Linked DNA regions of Homo sapiens: all the other regions are linked to region 3. Evidence: promoter capture Hi-C in 16 types of primary human blood cells and fetal thymus (Javierre and others, 2016). All regions are on one chromosome and are shown on one strand. Each heading gives the region's core, a stretch centred on a gene start or on the middle of the fragment in contact. The rest is flanking DNA. Distances are from core to core; before and after follow the strand shown. Region 1 has its middle 21 kb from the start of USP44. Region 2 overlaps ELK3 (ETS transcription factor ELK3). Region 3 holds the start of HAL (histidine ammonia-lyase).

Region 1 (4,948 bases), core at 688-3,187, 420 kb before region 3:
ATGGATCTGAAAACCCATAAAGATGCAGTATTTGTCTTACAAATAGCAAATGTATAGTCTTTGATTTGATCATTTAATGTACCCTTTTTTACACAGCCATTTGGCTTTAATCCTGTAACAGGTTATTGTCACTTGTCTTTTCTTTATCTACCAAAATGCCTTCAGTCATTTCATGAATAAATCAATGGAGGGAAGAGAGAAATATGAGTTATCCCAAAGATATATTAATGGCATTATTCCAATATAAATGGAATGAGGAAAAGAAGAATTATGCATTAGTAATGATGTTTTTCATTGCAGAGCAATTTCTACCTCGCAAAGGATTTTCATACAGATCCTCTTTCTTCATACTTAGCATTATATAGCTGAGGAAATTATAGTATTAAGTGACTTGTCTGAAGCCACACAGCAAGCATCAGATCTGGAATTAGAAAGCAAGTCTTCTCATGACCAGCCATTGTTCTTTTATAGTTTACCTTATAGATGGCATGAAAGTGACTTTTTTGTGGAATAGTTATTACAACTTCTCACCCCCCAATGTATCTACTTGTGAAAATAATGGGTTTTTTGTTTTGTTTTGTTTTGTTTTGTTTTGTTTTTTGAGACGAGTCTCGCTCTGTCGCCCAGGCTGGAGTGCAGTGGCGCGATCTCGGCTCACTGCAATCTCTGCCTCCCGGGTTCAAGCAATTCTCCTGCCTCAGCCTCCTGAGTAGCTGGGATTACAGGCGCCCACCACCACGCCCAGCTAATTTTTGTATTTTTAGTAGAGACGGGGTTTCACCATGTTGGTCAGGCTGGTCTCGAACCCCTGACCTCATGATCCGCCCGCCTCGGCCTCCCAAAGTGCTGGGATTACAGGCATGAGCTACCACACCCGGCCTGACTTACATGTTAAGGTGTCCAAATTGATTGAGATGTTCTTCTATCATAATTTATAGAATCTCTTCTACCATAATTTACTTCTTAACTGATGACCTTGGAGAATGAGCAGAATAACAGATGAGAAAGGGCTCAGGGAGAAAGAGAAATGTATATGCTCTCACTGGGCATGGTAGCTCATGCTTGTAGTCTCAGCACTTTGGAGGCCCAGGCAAGAGGATTGCTTGAGTTTAGAAGTTTGAGACCAGCCTGGGCAACATAGCAAGACCTCGTCTCTACTAAACATAAAAAAAAAAAAAAAAAAAAAAAAAAAAAAAAAAAAAAAAAAAAAAAAAAAAAAAGCTGAACATGGTGGCACGCCTGTAGTCCCAGCTACTTGAGAGGTTGAGATGGGAGGATCGCTTGAGCCTGGGAGATCAAGGCTGCAGTGAGCTAAGATTGCACCATTGCACTCCAGCTGGGTGGCAGAGTGAGACCCTATCTCTAAAAAAAAAATGTAAAAAAGAGACCGAGATGTATGTGTTCTCTACACTACTCATTATAAGGATGCAGGTGGGGATCAACTGGTTTATAAACAAGGTTTTACTTCCTCTTCCTGATCTGAACTGTATCATCATTTCCTCTATCTTTATTTGATGTGAAATGTATTGATGGTCATATATCAATTTCTTCTGTAGACTCAGTGATACAGGAAGTGTCCTGGTAAGCACTGGCACCCAAAACAGTAAAGATAAAAGCTTTAGTCTGAATTTTGCAGTTGGGAAAGTTGAAGTTGAGGGTGAAATGACTGAGCCACAGTGGGTTACTTAGCTTCCTGATACCAAGGCAGAGCTGTTTCCTCCAGGATTTGGTGACTTAGTAACCTCCTCCTGTTACTAGAAATTTCTCCTTTAGAGAAAACCAAAATTTGCTTCATTGTGATATTTACCCTCTGGGCCTATGTTTGCCCTCCAAGTCTGCATTGAACAAACGACTTTCTCCTTGTCTCCCCTGCATATGTCTTATGCAGCTTAGGGTCAGAAGTGGATTTGATTTCTGAGGAAACATCACCAACCAAGAATCTTTTTGTTTTTCCAGATAGAGGGTTTTGCTCTGTCACCCAGGCTGCAGTGCAGTGGTACCATCACAGCTCACTGTAGCCTCACACTCCTGGGCTCAAGTGATCTTCCCACCCCAGCCTCCTGAGTGTCTGGGATTACACGGGAGCCCCACCATGCCCTGCTATTTTGTTTTTAAATTTTTGTAGAGATGGGGTCTTGTTAGGTTGCCCTGGCTAATCTTGAACTCCTGCCTCAAGCGATCCTCCCTCCCCAGCCTCCCAAAGTGCTGGGATTACAGGTGTGAGCCACTGCACCTGGCTGTCCAAGGGACTTCTAAACAAAGCTTATTTTTGTTATAATAAAAACAAATGAAGATTAAGCAATCTAAAGACAAAGCCTCCTGAGTAGCTAGGACCACAGTGGCCCATCACCATGCCCAGCTAATTTTTGAATTTTTTGTAGGAACAGAGTTTCTCCATGTTGCTCAGGCTGGTCTGCAGCTCCTGGGCTCAAGCGATCCTCCTGCCTCAACCTCCCAAAGTGCTGTGATTACATATATGAGCCACTGTGCCTGGGCTAGTACATTGTGTTTTATCTCACTCTCTCATCTCAGAGGGAGGCTGAGGTAATTTATGCATATACACATGCACACACCCCATTTGTTGGACATCTACAATGTTCCTAATCCTTACAAGTTAGATTTTATTATCCCCATTTTACAGATGAGGAATCTGTGGTTAGATAACTCTTTAAAATCACTCAGCTAGAAAGTGGCTACAGTGGCATTAGAACTAAAAATTCCCATGGGATGAATGCCTTGGCTTTAAGTCCTTGCTCTTTTCACTGTAATATGCTGCGTGTCTGATCACATGGAATATTTGTGGTAAAGGTAAGAAACTTCAGAAGGCCACAGAACTAGTTTTGGAGCTGGAATCAGTTTTATGTTGTCTTGATTTTGTTCCTATTTGCTTGTGTAGTTTGCTAGATGTTACTTGCTTGAAAAGAAGTATCAATTGGGCTCATTTTTCCCCAAGTCCTTACAAACAGTGGTGCCTGTTTGATGCTTTGATTTAAAAAGAAATTGATAGTACCTTTAAGACTGTATGGATGGCAAGCTACTCCAAGGCTGGACTACATCTCTAGTTTCCTGAAAATGATTCCTCTCTAGGATTTACAGTTTGCTGGCTTTTAAGACATAATAGAAAACACAATTCTCTCCTTAAGCCCTGCAAGTCCTTGGCCGGGCGCAGAAGCTCACACCTGTAATCCCAGCACTTTGGGAGGCCAGGGCGGGGGGATCATGAGGTCAGGAGTTCAAGACCAGCCTGGCCAACATGGTGAAACCTCGTCTCTACTAAAAATACAAAAATTAGCCTGGCATGGTGGTGTGCGCCTGTAATCCCAGCTACTCAGGAGGCTGAAGCAGGACAATCGCTTGAACCCGGAAGTTGCAGTGAGCCAAGATTGCTTCATTGCACTCAAGCCTGGGTGACAGAGTGAGACGAGACTCTGGCTCAAAAAAAAAAAAAAAAAAAAAAAAAAAAAAAAAAAAAAAAAAAAAGCCTTGCAAGTCCTGAGGGGGCCCAGTGCTAAGACAAACGGATATGGTCATTTTCCCAAAAGGTTAAGGAGAATAGTTAGGTACAAGAATACCACACACCATCCTCAAACGGACAGAATTTTTGCCAGATACTGTTAATAAGTCAGATTTAATTGATAGATGGGTAAGATCTGAAATAACAGTCAGTCAAAAACAAGGCCTTTATTCTTCAAATCATTCTAAACTCCAAACTTCCCCCAAATGGCTTGAGATCACATTAAAGCCCAAACCTTCCATTTCTAAAGGAACAGAAATACATCGCAGTTCCCCGAATTCTCTTTCCCTTCAGCGTTGCCTGTCTACTCAGTTTAGACTGTTCTGAACTATCAGGCTCCGGGGTGGTGGCAGGCTCTGCTCACCCCAAGCTTTCCATTTTGATCAGTTTAATTCCCTAGGAGCCGACGACTGCCATCGGAAGGAAGAGAAATTGTGAGCTCGCGCTGGGCTGCCGGGGAGGGGAGGGCTGGCCAGTGAGGACTCCTATCTCTGGGGCTGGTCACCCAGCCTCAAACAAATCTGCATCACCCTGGGGGGTCTCACCCCTTTTTCTATGTCAATGATCCCCATTTGTCCCAAGTGCTTGGGGTTTCAGGTCCTGGTGAGCCATTCTCATTTATCTTCCTTTTGTTTTCTGCCTTAACTACTGACAATTATCATTTATTCTGTTCCTTTTAGCTTGGTGGTGAGTGCTGAGGCTTTGCTAGCCTTTCAGTTCCGCCATTCAGCCTCTTTCTAAAAAAAAAAAAAAAAAAAAACTGGGGCTTACCCAGTCTCTGACTAACAAGATGTCTTAGAGTTGGAGGGGATTTCTCAGTCCAGATTTTTCCTTGAATTTTCTTCCGTGTCAGAAAAGATTTAAAGACAAAAAAGTGCTCTTCCAATGGTGGCCGTGAGTCAGATGGCCCTGAATCAGATTTCTCCCTCTTCTTTAAAACCTTATTGAGGATCTTTCTGTCCTCAGCAAAATGCACACAATTTTAGAGGTTCACAGACCTTCTCATCTTTTAGACCTTTTTGAGGTTCTTTCTGTCCTCAGAAAAATGCACACAATTTTAGAGACTCACAGACCTTCTGATATCCATGAATGTACTGTCTCCAAATTAGGATTCCTGCCTGCGCTAGCGTACTTCTGGAGTTCTGAGATCTGATCTAGTATGAAGACCTCAGTAGTGAATGTGGCTTTTGAGATGGAATAATCTGATTTCCTCTCAGTTTTCCATAATTTTCAGCCTCACATATCAGAAAATCTGGGAGCACTGTGTGCCATGGCATGGGAATATGTAATTACTCTCCAACTGGCTCTCATATTTTCCTAGAACATCAACACCAACACTCTGTTAATTCATAGCCTTTTTAGAGGAAGTGGAGCTCCAACATTCCCATTCATTGCATGTGGCAGTAAAGTGACCTCTAGTGGACTTTCCTGGTA
Region 2 (4,555 bases), core at 702-3,201, 260 kb after region 3:
TAGCCCTTGGCCCTCAGGCTCAGCCCACTCTGCCTGACTCCAGGAGCGTGTGGAGAGAGGCTGTGAAGTCTCACACTGTCCCGGAGATAACCCAGAGCAGGTGTTATAGGAACTTTCCTTAAAAAAGCAACCACATGGTTCTTTAAGGCCACAGGATTTTCAGGGAGAACTTCAGGGATAGAAGGGAGAGGAGGGAATGAAATCATTTTACAGTGTTTATTTGCATATATTATAGAAGACATTTCAGACATATTAAAGATGAGAAACAAGAAGGCTACAGTAGTCTGAGTACATCCTGTATTCCTAAGAAACAAATGTGCAAACATCTCAAATCCAGACATGGGTATACGTTTTAGACCAGAGAAATAGAAATTCTAGACCTTGTACATTGCTTAGAGGATTAAAAAGGAATGGGCATATGATGGCCATGGAGGAGAGAAGGATAGCTGTGTTTTGTGGTTTAGAAGATTGTCTCTTTAAAGCTTTGAGAGCCTTCATTGATGGATAAACTAGGAGGCCTTGAACACACTGGTTATTAAATGTTAATGTGACATATTGAGGTTGGAACCTTGCTCCAGAGTAACATGCAAATATTAGTTTTCAGAACACCTGAGCTTGTGGCCTTGAGCCTAACACAACTGACAGTAGCCTCCAAGTCCAGGCTGACTCAGTTGAGTTGGTCTGTTTCAGAGGATTAAGTCCTTCTCTGTATACAGTTGAGAATTTCTCCCTCACATAGATGAAGTACGTTTAGTAAGTATGTCATGTATACTTTCAATTAATTACCAATCCATTTATTCATTCAAAAACATGTATGAAGTACCTAGCCAGATAACTGCCTCTGGCACTTGTTGAGCATTTCTATATGCCAGGCACATATCTTATAAGAGCTTGCAGTAGATCAGCTTATTTAATCTTCCCAACAACCCTGTAACGTGGGCATTTTTATTCTCCCCATTTTACAGATGAGGCAACTGAGACAGAGAGAGGTTAGGTGGCTTGCCTGAGGTTACCTGGCTGGGAAGTAGTGGTTCTGAGATTGGAACCCTGGCAGAGCTCATGCTGAGCCGTGAAGTTTTAACTGTTAGGCCAGATGGCCTGGCATGCTTGTGAAATTGCCTTGGACTAGAACAAATGGGAAGCTTATTCAAAACATGTATTTATTCTAGTAACCTCATAGGTCATTCAGTATGTAGGAAATGCCATGGAACCAACGACTCAAATAATTTGGTATAAATGTGTTTACATTTCAGCAGCTTCACAGTTTGAGGAACTTTGGATGTTTGTCTCCATTCTGCTGAACAGAGCAGACCTTTCAATTTAGGTTTAAGCCAAATGCTGTTGGTAATTAATGATGCTACGGAGGCCAATTCTAGGAAAAAATAACACTTTAGCATCCAGCATGGTGCAGTCTGAAAGGCTGGCGCCTTTGCTGTGGTTCTTCTTACACAAAGCACCTTATTGACATCACAAAACCACTGAGGGACTCCTTCTAGTCACCAAAGGTACAAAACCACCCTGGGCCGGGGAGTTTGTCTCCACTGAGAATAAAAGCCATGCAGACTTAGCAGCTGGGCGGGTGTTTCTTCTGCCCTCCTGCTGGCTTGCAGGCCAGGACTCCTGCTGTGTGTGTGCAAGAAATTCAGTCCTTGGAACTCCCCTGGGAAACCCAGGGTTTTGGCTTTATACCCAATCTGACAAGAAAGGGCCCTCCCTGCCCCCACCCAAACCATTGCCAGGGCAATGAATTCTCATCAACTCCACATCCGGAAGGAATCTGGAAAACCCGGCTCAGAGCTTCTGAAGAGGCTGCTACAGGGTATTTTAACAGCAAATCCCAAAGCCTTAACAGCTGTTGATATGGAGACCATTTAAAAACGTGTGTTCGTAACCCAAGTAATAGATGTCCACTGTAGAAACACAGGAAAATATAGATAAGAAGAATTAAAGCCCCTTTATGGGATCCTATTTTGTTTGTATACTAATCCTTGTTTAATCTGGGAAGGGGAACAAGTTAACAAACCATTCGGACGAAAGTTGATACAAACTTGAATTTTCCACCAGAATGTTTAGGGAAGGTAATGTGTCAATACCTTTTTCCTTTATGAAAAAAGTGTTAATAAAATTAGCATTGAAGAAAACTAGCCAGCCAGGTATGGTGGCTCACGCCTGTAATCCCAGCACTTTGGGAGGCTGAGGTGGGCAGATCACTTGAGGTCAGGAGTTCGAGACCAGCCTGGCCAACGTAATGAAACCCCTTCTCTACTAAAAATACAAAAATTAGTCGGTGGTGGGTGCCTGTAATCCCAGCTGCTTGGGAGGCTGAGGCAGGAGAATCGCTTAAACCCAGGAAGTGGAGGTTATAGTGAACCAAGATCGCGCCATTGCACTCCAGCCTGGGTGACAGAGCGAGACTGTCTCCAAAAGAAAAGAAAATTAAAATTAAACTGTTCACAGCCCCTCAGAATTAACGTTGCCAGTTTTCCTGAGATGGTAAGGTCGTTTCCTGGCCCATGCCTAGCCTACCTAACCTCTCTCTGCTGCTCTGTTGATCATGGCCCAAGTCAGGTGAACCTATATGAAGAAGTCTGTTTGCTTTACTTCCCAGACACCAAATGGATTGCTTCTGACTCCGAGTCCACTGCTCTCCAGCATACATTTCTGGAGCAGCCTTAGTCCAGTTGCTCCGCTGAGTCCTGCCAGGCTGCAAGGGCCAAGCACGCTGTTCCAGGTGAGCGTTTGGAAATGAACTTTTGAACATTAAGCTTCTGAGGGATGGTTTTTTCTCTAAATCCTGCAGAGGTAACGGTGAGTTTTGCCATATGTTGAGTTGAAATATTAAATGTCCAGAGGGGGTTCATGTTAGTGGGGTTGCACGCCCTTCAGAGGCAGACATTTTCATTGAGGCAGAAATTGCAGACTCATGCCAGACACCCATACGTGGAACAATTAGTTCTTAAAGTGTTTTGCATATTTTCATTTGTCTATGAAAACAGGAAATTTATTAAGGAAAAGGCAAAACTTTAAGAATTATTCTTTAGGCCAGTGTGATGGCTCACACCTGTAATCCCAGCACTTTGGGAGGTTGAGGGTGGGAGGATTGTTTGAGCCCAGGAGTTTGAGACCAGCCTGGGCAACACAGCAAGACCCCATCTATATTTAAAATAAAATGAAAATAAATATTATTATTTATAAAAGTCCACAAAAGACTTTAAAATATTAATCCTCCTAGTTAATGTAGCAACTTGTTTGACATAAAGTGAAAATAAAAATAGTGAACAATTTCCCCATCCTGGGATAGAAAAATTACTTGCATCATTTTATGAATCATCATTAAGTTCTCCTTGTTCTGTAATGAAAAAGGAGAATCCAGGGCATTTGGTTAAAAAATAATGAAGACTTAGCTGCTTTATCTTATAGAACTCTCCATACTAGGCGAGCACCTTCATTATTCATTCACACACCAGAATCTTGCAGGACCGTCACTTGCTATCATGGAGAAATCAGTATTTCCTCCTTGAGACCCATAGATCATTACTCACTGATTAAGGTGTTACTGTTTGAATATGTTGAGTGCAGGTGGAAAGAATCCTAGGGACAGGACTGAAGAAAAGGTGGACCCAGTGCAAACTCCCTCTTTCCCAAATTCTAGCTTTTCTCATCGTCCCTGCCTGTATCCTGTGCCCCACAGTGTGGCTTACCCCAAGTTAGTTGCAGCTCTTTGGATACCATTTCATCTAGCACGTGGCACTTTGTATTATGATTGCCTGTTGATCTGGCAATCTTTCTCACTAAACTATGGGCCCTCGAGACCAGAATGGAATCCTGTTCACTGTGGTGTCCCCAGCATCTGGCACATGGCTTGGTACACAAGTGAGGCTCAGTAATAATTGACTGTCTAAATGAATTCACAAAGAGAAGTCTGAGAAAGGCCAGTATTAATAGCAAGTCTTCATGATCATCTGAGCTGGTCATTTTGCTTGTCAAGGTTAATGTCTGCTGAGTACCTCCTCTGTGCCAGGAGCTGTACATGCTGGGATTCAGGGTCTCTTTGTAAGGGTGGAGCTAAAGAGGTTTTGATTGCCATCTTGCTTCTTTGGTTTCCTAGTGGAGTTAGGGTAGGGTGTCATGAAGTGACCATATCCTTGGAGTAATTGGGTTTCTATCTCTTTCACAGCCCTTATTCCCATCACAACAACTTGAGCTATAGTCATGTTGATTTTTAACAATTTCAGCTTGGGTAGGAAAAGAGAAACTAGAAATAGCAAAAAGCAATGAGCAAATGTTGTATTAGGAAAGTTTAAAATTAGGAATACTAATCTTTTGGTGGAGAGATAAAAACACCTCATTTCCTGAAAGTCTTAAGATTAGAGCAGCAGAATTCTAAAATTAATAGAATAGAAAGAAATTGTTTGGTTACAGTAAACTCCATGGCAGTAGGGATTGTTATACTACTCTAATCCTAGAATCTAACACAGAGCTTCTGTAGAGTTCAGTAGGTATTTGTGAATAATAAGTGGCCTCTCATTTCTCTCCTTACTGGGAATTCTGCCAC
Region 3 (4,324 bases), core at 618-3,117:
CCTCCTGGGTTCAAGCAATTCTCGTGCCTCAGGCTCCTGAGTAGCTGGTATTACAGGTGCACGCCACCATACCTGGCTAATTTTTGTACTTTTAGTAGAGATGGGGTTTCACCATGTTGGCCAGGCTGGTTTCAAACTGATGACCTCAAGTGAACTGCCCACCTCGGCCACCCAAAGTGCTGGGACTACAGACATGAGTCACTGCTCCCGGCCAGCCCTGTTCTAATTGACAGTGTTTTCTCAGAAGTTTTCCTGGCTTTCCTCCCTCTTAAATAAGGGGCCTTAATTTTCTGAAGAAAAAGAAAGTGGTTTGAAGCTTACCTTTTCAGGCTCCCGGTACTTGCTGTATCTGTATCCAGGTAAAGGAACATATAGGGTGGTGTGGAAAAACCCCCAGCCCCACCATCTGCAGGAGCCACCCCCAGAGCAGACCAAAGAGCCTGTGGGAAAGGATACAGATAAACTCCTTCTGGTTGAGATGGAATGAAGTCAGGAGACATGGCATCACCCTCTATAACTAAAACAATGCACGGGAGACTCGTTACAGATCACATTGTACAGCCATGTTCCCCCTGTTAAACCAAGGAACGGCCCATCATTGGCCCATGAATTCTATAGAAATGGCTGCTTTAAAACTGCTTCAGATGGTTTCATGTGGTCTTAGCATCTTTATGTAGGAGGAGAGCAAAAAGCAGAAAGGTAGGTGTCAGGGCAGAGACCAGGGGTTTAGATGAAAGTTCAAGACAGAATTCCACTTCCATCCCCATTCCCAGCTTTATTTTCTTCAAAATCTGAACTGATGCTATGCTGCCGGCCTCCAGTCTGGGGGTGGGGGTGGATTCTTTCGAAAGGCAAAATAACCTCAAAATGATTCAGTCACTGCAAAGGGATTCAGACCTGCAGCCTTGAGTACCAGTCTAGTCTTTGTTACTTACTAGCTGCTGGAGTCTGGGTAAGTTACCTCCTCTCTGATTTCTCCTCCATCAGAGGTGGAGGAGAATCCTACCCATCTCACAGGGTTGTGTGAGGACTTAAGATCCCCAGAGGCGTGGCATGTGCCTGCACAGGGCCAGCCTCGGCAAGCCTGACCTCTGCTCATCATTTTCCCTGAGGTGGGGGTTCAATGCTGCAAAGACTAAGCCAGGCCAAACCGCACCCGTTCGCGGCCCTCTCCTGCAGCCACTCACCCACTTCCACGAACTCGTTGTTCTCTAGGGCCACCTCGAGCCGGTCCTCGTTGTCCAGCAGGCCCAGGCCCTTGCACCGGCGCACAAGGAAGTGCGCGTCATCCACGGAGGTGAAGCCACCATTGTCGGGCTTATTCTTGATATAGCGCCTCACGGCCTCCCGGCCCAGCCAGCCCACAGTGAGCTGCGCGTCCTGGCAGGGCACTGCCAGCCATTCCCCACGTACGTGCACCGTGTATCTGGGCATGGCTCCGCTGCAGCCTGAGGTCCTCAGCTGGTCACAGGAGGGGAGAGCTTTATGCAGGAGTGGCTACCGGGGTGTGGTCAGCTGGAAGGATGAGAATAGACTTTCAAACCACTCCCCCTCCTTCACCTTTACTCATTCATGCATTGGACAAATATTTATTGAGGTACCTGCTGTCCCTTTGGTTTTTGTAGCCGAGCAGGGGCAGGAGCAGGGGATGCAGACGGGTGAGCCTCCTGTCCACTTTCCATCCAGACCTGCTGCCAGAAAGGCCTGGGGTCTCCCACCCTGGGAGGTGCTGTTCTTGTCCCTGATGGCACCTACCTGCTGCTGGCCCCCTTTCTTCAGGGTCCCCAATTTCTCTCTCTTCCCTCGTTTCTGTCTGTGTTCTCTGCCATTAAGGGCAGCTTATAAACACCATGTTCCTGTCTTTATCTGAGATTACTCAACTGTAAAACGTGTTCTGTGGGCCAACTGTGACACTGGGAGTGTGGCAATCGTCACTCATTTGTTTATTCCACAAACATGTATTGAGCAACTACTTCCTGTCACCAGTAAGGTTTTCTGAAGCTTTCTTTCCACCAGGGAAGACTGCAAAGGCCAGAGATCATTTTCACAACTAAAGGTCGTCATCTGGGCAAATGAACCACTCTGACTTGGAGATTAGGGGCTCAGACAGCCGTGGATGAGAGTCCAGCTCTACTACTTATTAGCCTTGATTAGGTGAGTATTACCCTGTATTTCCTTATCAGAAGGCCTAGGGGCTAACTGCCTCCTTCCAGTATGTGCAGGATTTACCTGTGATCAAATCCTGGCTCTGCCATTTGCTAAGTGTATGACTTGTGGGCAAGTGATTTGACTTCTCTGGGCCTCAGTTGCCTCATCTGTAAAATGAAGATAATGGTAATGATGATAGTATATATGTCAAAGGGCTATTGGGAGGATGAAGTCAGTTCATATATGTAAAGCCCTCAACACAACACCTGGCATAGTGGAAATATTATAGAAGTGTCTGTGATTACTAGTATCTGGACACCAATACTCCATGTAACTATAATGCTTTATAAATGTTCTGTATGAATCATAAAGCTATAAAGTTCCATAAATGCTCTTTCATCTTGGCACATGGATATCCCTCACCCAATTAAGCTTCTTCACCACAGATAACTGCTCCCTGCACCCGCCTTATTACCATTGGTATTAAGGAACTCTGGATAGCATGATTACGGCATCAAAGATATGCAGATGCTATTTTGACTAAGCAGCACTTTCATCGTAAGCCAATTTTTAGAGATTTGATTATTGCACTAGAAAAATCCTGAAAAGTCTGTTTCCACTAAATCAGACTTCTGTTGGGAAGAGAGACATGGTTGCTCAAGAAAAACACCTATACTCATACCCAGAGTCCCTCTCATCTGCTGACAGCTTCCCAGGAAGCGTACAAATAGCTACCCTTCCTTGAGCCTTATTGAAACTTGCTCTTCAGATACCCACACCATGACTGCACCCTGGAATTTGTCATGACCTGAATTTGACACACTTAAGAAATCACCCTGGAATCTGTCACGACCTGAATTTGACACACTTAAGAAATCTGAAATTCCAATATTCCACCTTCTGACCACAACCTTCCAGCTGCCCTTTTACTCTAGTCACTGCCAGCCTTGGACCTGACCTCCAGTCAGTCTCTTCATCCCTCCACTTCCCACCAGCATCCTCACTTACTATCCTAGGAAGCTGGTCCCTAGTCGCTCACTGGACCACTCTTTCTTAAGCACTCTGAGATTCCTTTGCATCCCTAAACTTATGTCTACACTTGGAATAACACCCATCCCCTTAGTCATCACAAAAAACAGCCATCTCTTGGAAGGATTGCTTAAGCCTAGGCAGTCAATGCTGCAATGAGTTATGATTATACCACTGTACTCCAGCCTGGGTGAGAGCAAGACCCTGTTTAAAATTAAAAGAAACTGTCATATCTGTTCACCCAGGCAGAAGACACTGATAGAGAAAGTCCTGTGATCACATAGTTTGATGGTATTGCCCTTTTATTCCATCCAGCCCACAGTGACTTTCCAAAACTTTGACCCCTCTGCCAGGACCTTCTCGACATCCACCTCTAATTCTCAGAAGGAGACCTTACTTCCTACATCTGTGAGAAAACTGAGGACTGCACATGTGAACCACCTTAACCTTCTGCCCCACCCCCCCCCATTCATTCCTTGACTCATTTAACAAATATTTTTTCAACACCTGTTATGTAACAAGCTCTATGCGAGGTGCTGGGGATGAAATAAATAACAAACACGCTCTACATTCATGAGGCTTACTGTCTGGTGATGGATAAAGCTGTATAAAGATGACTAATAAGAGGTCTAACTATCTTCATGCTGCAAAACAACCCAAACTACTGCATGCTCCAGTTGACTGTCACTGCCGAGACCAGCTTCTGAGTAATTTCAGCCCAGGCATCAGACTAGTGAGGGAAGGAGCTTCCAGGTGATACCACCTCCCAGCCATGTAAGTCACCCCCAGCAGTTTGAGGATTCTAAACTCAGGCCCTACGCATTGTGGAGCAGAGTCTTCCTTGTTATTCTTTCTCCAGAAACGCACTTTCCAACTTCCTTTGCCTGTCTAGATCTTTCTTACTCCTTAAGCCTGTTTAGGCCTTTTCTTCTCCAGGAAGCATTCCCTAAATTCTTCAGTTGGGTTAAGTGGCCCTTCTCTGGGATGCCTTAGCATAGCTCTTCTTTAGTATTATCTAGGAAATTACTTGTCTGTGTTCATCCATAATTATGTATATATCCGATCTGGCACAAAGACATTTAGCATATGCTTACTAGCTGAACTGAAGAAATGTGAACTGCACCGAGCTGGCCCCTAGGTAAACCAG

The links. The method cuts DNA at HindIII sites, captures the fragments that hold promoters and counts their contacts. A CHiCAGO score of 5 or more calls a contact.
Region 1: a fragment that was not itself captured here is called in contact with the fragment with the promoter of HAL in region 3 in 1 of 17 cell types (endothelial precursors); the score reaches 5.4 in endothelial precursors.
Region 2: a contact is called between a fragment that was not itself captured here and the fragment with the promoter of HAL in region 3, in 1 of 17 cell types (monocytes). The highest score is 5.8, in monocytes.

The regions. Positions count from the first base shown.
Region 1 is chr12:95,570,114-95,575,061 of GRCh38, forward strand. No RefSeq gene overlaps it. Among named protein-coding and RNA genes, the nearest start is that of USP44, 21 kb to the left of the region's middle. RefSeq lists an enhancer at 4,012-4,141. The HindIII fragment of the contact is 646 bases long and covers 1,615-2,260 here.
Region 2 is chr12:96,257,123-96,261,677 of GRCh38, forward strand. It overlaps ELK3 (ETS transcription factor ELK3), which reads left to right. Exons shown (of 5, transcript NM_005230.4): 4 at 2,609-2,731. Among named protein-coding and RNA genes, the nearest start is that of ELK3, 65 kb to the left of the region's middle. The HindIII fragment of the contact is 1,623 bases long and covers 1,141-2,763 here.
Region 3 is chr12:95,994,477-95,998,800 of GRCh38, forward strand. It overlaps HAL (histidine ammonia-lyase), which reads right to left and starts at 1,868. Exons shown (of 21, transcript NM_002108.4): 1 at 1,602-1,868; 2 at 1,188-1,515; 3 at 457-517; 4 at 322-349. The coding sequence starts at 1,434. It overlaps LOC102723340 (a long non-coding RNA gene), which reads left to right and starts at 2,006. Exons shown (of 4, transcript XR_945237.4): 1 at 2,006-2,154; 2 at 3,855-3,951. RefSeq lists enhancers at 2,081-2,250, 3,475-3,769, 4,216-4,275. The HindIII fragment of the contact is 1,685 bases long and covers 315-1,999 here.